Regions from separate parts of the Homo sapiens genome. Here region 1 is linked to region 2. Evidence: promoter capture Hi-C in 16 types of primary human blood cells and fetal thymus (Javierre and others, 2016). All regions are on one chromosome and are shown on one strand. The core of a region is centred on a gene start or on the middle of the fragment in contact, and the rest is flanking DNA. Distances in the headings are between cores, read along the strand shown. Region 1 holds the start of NRBP2 (nuclear receptor binding protein 2). Region 2 holds the start of CPSF1 (cleavage and polyadenylation specific factor 1).

Region 1 (2,700 bases), core at 40-2,539, 570 kb after region 2:
GGGTGGAGGATTTGAACACCCCAAACCTTTACTGCAGAGGGCCTCAGCAGGATCACCTGGCATTGGTGGAAACCACACACAAGGTGCCTGGTGACCAAGGCTGGTCAGAAAAGAGAGACCACAGGGGACGCAGCAGGGCCAGATGCACCTCTGCCAAAGAAAGAAAGAGGCGTCCCAAAGGGCCAGTGCATGGAGCTGCGCGGAGGGGAGGAGCGGAGTTCCAATTTGGGCTCCAGAGAGAGAAGGTAAAGGATGAGGACCCGCCGTGAAGGAGGGAGGAGACCACAGGAAGGCCGTGGGGGCTGTGGGCTGAAGGGGGTTTTAGGTGAGAATCGGGGACAGCCCCGGTGGTCGGCGTGGCTGGAGGGTGTGCTTAGAGCGGCCTCCGGAGGGAGAGGTCGTGTGAGCCGGGTGGGCTCCCCCCTCATGGTTCCACTGTCCCATGGGAGCCAGCCGCGGAAAGGAAATGCGCGTTTGAGGAGAAAAGAGAAAATCGCCATCCTGGAAAGTGAGAAGATGGGCTTGTGGGCGGGAGGAGGCACTGGTGGGCGGGCCAGGGAGAGATTCGTGGTCACCGATCAAAGTCAGCCTGGGTCAGCCTGCTGGTGGGCCTTTCCCCCGCCCTCGGTGCCCCTTCGACCTGTCCCTTGGGGGTCGGCCGGGGAATGAGTGCGTGGCCAGGAGAGCGGGTCCCGCTTTCGAGCCCGCGGGGTCTTCTGCAGCTGGAGGGTGCCGTGGGCTTGGGGGCCCCCAGATGCCCCGGGTCTTCCCCCAGATCCTAGGGGAGCAACCGCGAGAGAAGTGGGCGCTCCGGGCTCCAGGTGTCCGCAGGGCGGGGCCTCCGAGGGGGCGGGGATTTGGGGGCGGTTCCTCTGCGCGGGGCGGGGCCTCATAGGGGCGGGGCTTCGAGGAGGTGAGGCGGGGCCTGGGGTGGGGCTTCGCGGAGGACCCTGGGAACGGGCGGGGGCGGGGACTAAAACGGGGCGGGGATTCGCGGGGGTGGGGCGGGTCCTGGGGCGGGGCTTCGCGAAGGAGGCTTGGAGGACGAGGAGGGGACAGGGCCTGGGGAGGGGCTTCGCGGAGCAGGCCTGGGAGACGAGGAGGAAACAGGGACTGGGGCGGGGCTTCGCGGGGCGGGGCCTCCGGGGGGGCGGGGCCTGGGCGCGGCCCGGGCTCGGCAGCTCTCGGGGAAGCTCTGCTCTGGCTCCGGCAGGCACAGGCGGCTCGGGAGGTGCGCGCCGGCTCCGCCCCCGGGCCCCGCCCGTCCGCCGCGCGCCCGCGCCTCCCAATTCCCAGAGCCGGGGCTGGGGCTCTAGGCTGCCGCGGCGGCTCTAGGCTGGGCTGCTGGGCGCGAGGCCAGGGCGGGCCGGGAGAGGCTGCGCCGGCGGCGGATCGCGCAGAGGGCGGTGGCCTGGGCTGGCCGAACCATGGCGGCCCCGGAGCCGGCGCCGAGGCGGGCCCGGGAACGGGAGCGGGAGCGGGAGGACGAGAGCGAGGACGAGAGCGACATCCTGGAGGAAAGCCCGTGTGGTCGCTGGCAAAAGCGACGGGAGCAGGTGGGCGCGGGGGTTGGGGCACGGGGTGACACCGCCCTCCCAGAGCGGGAGGGGCCTGGAGGCTGCGCGGGGCGTGGGGGCGCTGGGAGAGCGCGGCGGCTGGAAACCTCTCCGCGGCCCCTCGCGGCCCGCGAATCAGCCACCCCTGGACCCCTTTGGCCTGGCGCTCGCCCTGGGACTCCCTGAGGGCCAGTCTCCTCCCAGGACCACCTCCCCATGCCTCTGGACTCAGCCGCTAGCTTCCTGGGGATCCCCCTCGACCCCCTGAAACCTGCTCCAAATCCCCTTAGCCCAGCCCTTGGATAGGAGCCCTTGGCTCCTGGGGGCAGCTACCCTCCAAGCCCCACCTTCCCGCAGAGTGGCTCAGGGCCTGCAGCCCACGCTTGGGCCCACTGGAAAGGTGTGGACAGGGACCAAATCCTCACCCACAACCCTGACACACACCAGGGCACACATAACCCTTTATTCACCCCCAGGTAAACCAAGGGAACATGCCAGGGCTTCAGAGCACCTTCCTAGCCATGGACACGGAGGAGGGGGTAGAGGTGGTGTGGAACGAGCTCCACTTCGGAGACAGGAAGGCCTTCGCGGCGCACGAGGTGAGACCGCTGCCCCCTCCTCATCCTGCTTGGGTGACCACCTGCTGACCACCCAGCGACCACCCTCCCTCCCCAGGAGAAGATCCAGACCGTGTTCGAGCAGCTGGTGCTGGTGGACCACCCGAACATCGTGAAGTTGCACAAGTACTGGCTGGATACCTCTGAGGCCTGCGCGAGGGTGAGCACGGGCAAGGCCCCGGGCAGGCAGAGACCACAGCTAGGTGGGGCGGGCATGGGGACGAACCCGCAGCTGGTGGAAATCCTGAGCTCGCACCGTGCAGGTCATCTTCATCACAGAGTACGTGTCATCAGGCAGCCTCAAGCAATTCCTCAAAAAGACCAAGAAGAACCACAAGGCCATGAACGCCCGGGTATGGGGAGCGGGCTGGGGCAGCCACGGGGACAGGACGGGGTTGGGGCAGCCTCGGGGACTGGGATGGTGAGGGGGTGCCCGGCGGCCTCGGACAGGGGCTGGGCGAGGATGCGGGGCGGGCTCCGCAGGCCCAGCCGCCTCTCCTGCGCCCACCCGACCGACGGAGTCGTGC
Region 2 (2,700 bases), core at 29-2,528:
TCCCATGAGGCCATATCTCAGGCTGTCTCAGTGGGGGGAAACCTTGGACAATTCCCAGGCTTTCTTGGGCAGAGGTCCCTGCGGCTTCCCGCAGTGCATTGTGTCCCTGGTTAATCGAGAATGAAGAATGGCGATAACTTTTACCAAGCATACTGCCTACAAACATATTAACAAGGCACATCCTGCATAGCCCTAAATCCATTAAACTTTGATTCATTACAGCACATGTTTCTGTGAGCACAGGGTTGGGGCTAAAGTTACAGGTTAACAGCATCTCAAAGCAAAAACAATTTTTCTTAGTACAGATCAAAATGGAGTTTCTTATGTCTTCCTTTTCTACATAGACACAGTAACAATCTGATCTCTCTCTCTTTCCCCCACAGTTTTTGTATTTTTAGTAGAGACTGGGTTTCACCATGTTGGCCAGGCTGGTCTCGAACTCCTGACCTCAGGTGATCCGCCCACCTCGGCCTTCCAAAGTGGGATTACAGGCGTGAGCCACCGCCTCCTATTGACTTTTAAAAGGCGGTTGAGTGTGGCTCAGGGGTCACACGCCTGAGCATCCAAGTGGCCCTTCCCCCACTGCCCAATGAGCAAGTAGATTTGGATGCAACAAAAACACATATTTCCACGCCATTTTCTTGGGCGTAACGATACTTTCTTGTTTTATTTCTCATGATTCCGTTTCTAGGTCCTAGGCCCGTGCCTGATCCAGGATCCAAGCTCCCGGAAGCTGGCACTGGGCCCGCCCTGGGTAGGCAGCAGTGAGCAAGGCGGGCGGACAGCGCTGGGCTCGCGGGGTCCTGCGTCCTCCGCGGGAGTGTTGGCGGCGGGGGTCGCTCTGCGCGGGGACACTGGGCAGAGGGGGCGTGCGGCCTCTCTAGGAAGCTTTCTCGGAGCCCCAGACACTGGCGAGGCGCCGCGCCCCCTCTTCTGGATTCCGGCGCGCCCCCTGAACCCGGGAGCTACGAGCGGAGTCGCTTCTCCCTGCAGCCGTCCTGGGTCTGGCGCGGACGCACCCCCCGGCCGACCCCGAGCCGCTGCAGCCGGCGCCCCTGCGGCTTCCAACCCGCGCTGCTCCGCCCGCAGCGGAGGCCCCGCACTTCGCGCGCTAGGGGTTTGGGTTCCGGACGCCCAGCCCGGAGCCGAGCCGCCAGCCGCCCGCATCCCGGGCCACTAGGGCCCGCTGTCGCCCCTGCAGCCACGCTCACGCGGCGGCGCTGCGCAGGCGCAGAAGCCCGGAACCTTCCCGCCCAGCTTCTGGGCCCGGCCGGACTGAGTTCGCTGCTGTCCCGGTTCCTCTCGAGTCGGCTCCAACTGCCAGGTGGGCGGCCGGGCGGGCGGCCGAGGCGGCAGCGCGAGGCCGGGGAGGGGCGCGGTGCGGGGCCGGGCTCCTGCGTGGGCGACCCCGCTCACCCTTCCTCTCCCGGCCTTGCGCAGCCCGGGTTGGCGCCATGTACGCCGTGTACAAACAGGCGCATCCGCCCACCGGTCTGGAGTTCTCCATGTACTGCAACTTCTTCAACAACAGCGAGCGCAACCTGGTAGTGGCCGGGACCTCGCAGCTCTACGTGTACCGCCTCAACCGCGACGCCGAGGTAGGTCGGGCCCTGGGAGCCCTCCCGGCTGTCCGCGACGTGGGTGCTCTCACCGCCCCCGGTTGCAGATGGAAGAGCCAAGCCCCAGACAAGTTGAGTGATTTGCTTAACGTTCCTCAGCCTGAGGAGCCAGGACATGACCCTGAATCTCTTGTGCTCAGATCCTTTCTCACAGCTGCTACCCTGTTCTGCCTCCCTTCCTACCCCACCGGGAAGGGCGCGCTGCCCTAGCCGTCTTGTTTGCTCTTCCGTTTTTTCAGCAAGTTGTTCGGAAGGAGCGAACGCCCACTGTGCGCTGGGTAGCAGAGATACCATGTGAACCACACCTGCAGACACTTGGGGAAGGGGAACATCTAAATAAACACACCTGCCCCTGCAGCAAGTGCTGCTGCGGGAATAAAGGAGTGAAGGAAGGAGACTGTGTATTTCCAGTCGCATGATCAGAAGAGCCTGTCTGAGGCAGAGCGGGAGTTTGTCGGGGGAAGGACATTGGTAGCACAAGGAACAAGGCCAGGTCTAGGATGGGGACAGACTGTTGACAGGAGTCTTGGTACAGTGGGGCACACGCCTCAAGGGTTTGGGAAATACAGTGGTGTTTTGGTTGCCGGAGGGTTGAAAGCTGGTCCAGGAAAGCAACTTGCAAGAGGCAGTTTCTCCATTGCTCTTGAAGGGAGGAGTACCTCTTACCCAGGCCCAGGGATGGTGAGAGGAGGGTGTTCCAGGCAGAAGAAACAGCCTGTGCACAGGCCCAAAGCAGTTGAGGGTGGAGAGACATGCACAGTGTGGCCGTGGTATAGACTGGATGTGGTGGTGGGGATGGAGGGAGGTAGGCCGTGGTCAGGACTATTCTCCACAAAGCAGGGAGGAGCCACAAGAGGGTTGTGAATAGGGGCTGACCCAGCAGGCAGATGGGTCAGAAGCTCAGGCCAAAGGAGGCCAACCCTCCTGGGCACCTACCCCGGCATACATATGTATTTGCTGGCCAGGGCTCCTGTCCTCTGAAGGCTTGACGAGGGCTGGAGTTTCTGCTCCTAACACACTATTGGCAGGAGGCCGCAGTTCCTCACCACATGGGCCCCTCCCTGGGGCAGCTCACAACATG

The links. Contacts are between HindIII fragments. The CHiCAGO score rates a contact against its expected background, and 5 or more counts as called.
Region 1: a contact is called between the fragment with the promoter of NRBP2 here and the fragment with the promoter of CPSF1 in region 2, in 2 of 17 cell types (M0 macrophages and neutrophils). The highest score is 8.1, in M0 macrophages.

Annotation. Positions count from the first base shown.
Region 1 is chr8:143,839,562-143,842,261 of GRCh38, reverse strand. It overlaps NRBP2 (nuclear receptor binding protein 2), which reads left to right and starts at 1,289. Exons shown (of 18, transcript NM_178564.4): 1 at 1,289-1,556; 2 at 2,033-2,155; 3 at 2,232-2,333; 4 at 2,437-2,526. The coding sequence starts at 1,428. RefSeq lists enhancers at 1-671, 672-1,402 and a silencer at 828-1,387. The HindIII fragment of the contact is 4,061 bases long and covers 1-2,700 here.
Region 2 is chr8:144,407,913-144,410,612 of GRCh38, reverse strand. It overlaps CPSF1 (cleavage and polyadenylation specific factor 1), which reads left to right and starts at 1,278. Exons shown (of 38, transcript NM_013291.3): 1 at 1,278-1,324; 2 at 1,441-1,598. The coding sequence starts at 1,455. RefSeq lists a silencer at 812-1,471 and an enhancer at 1,742-1,791. The HindIII fragment of the contact is 8,279 bases long and covers 891-2,700 here.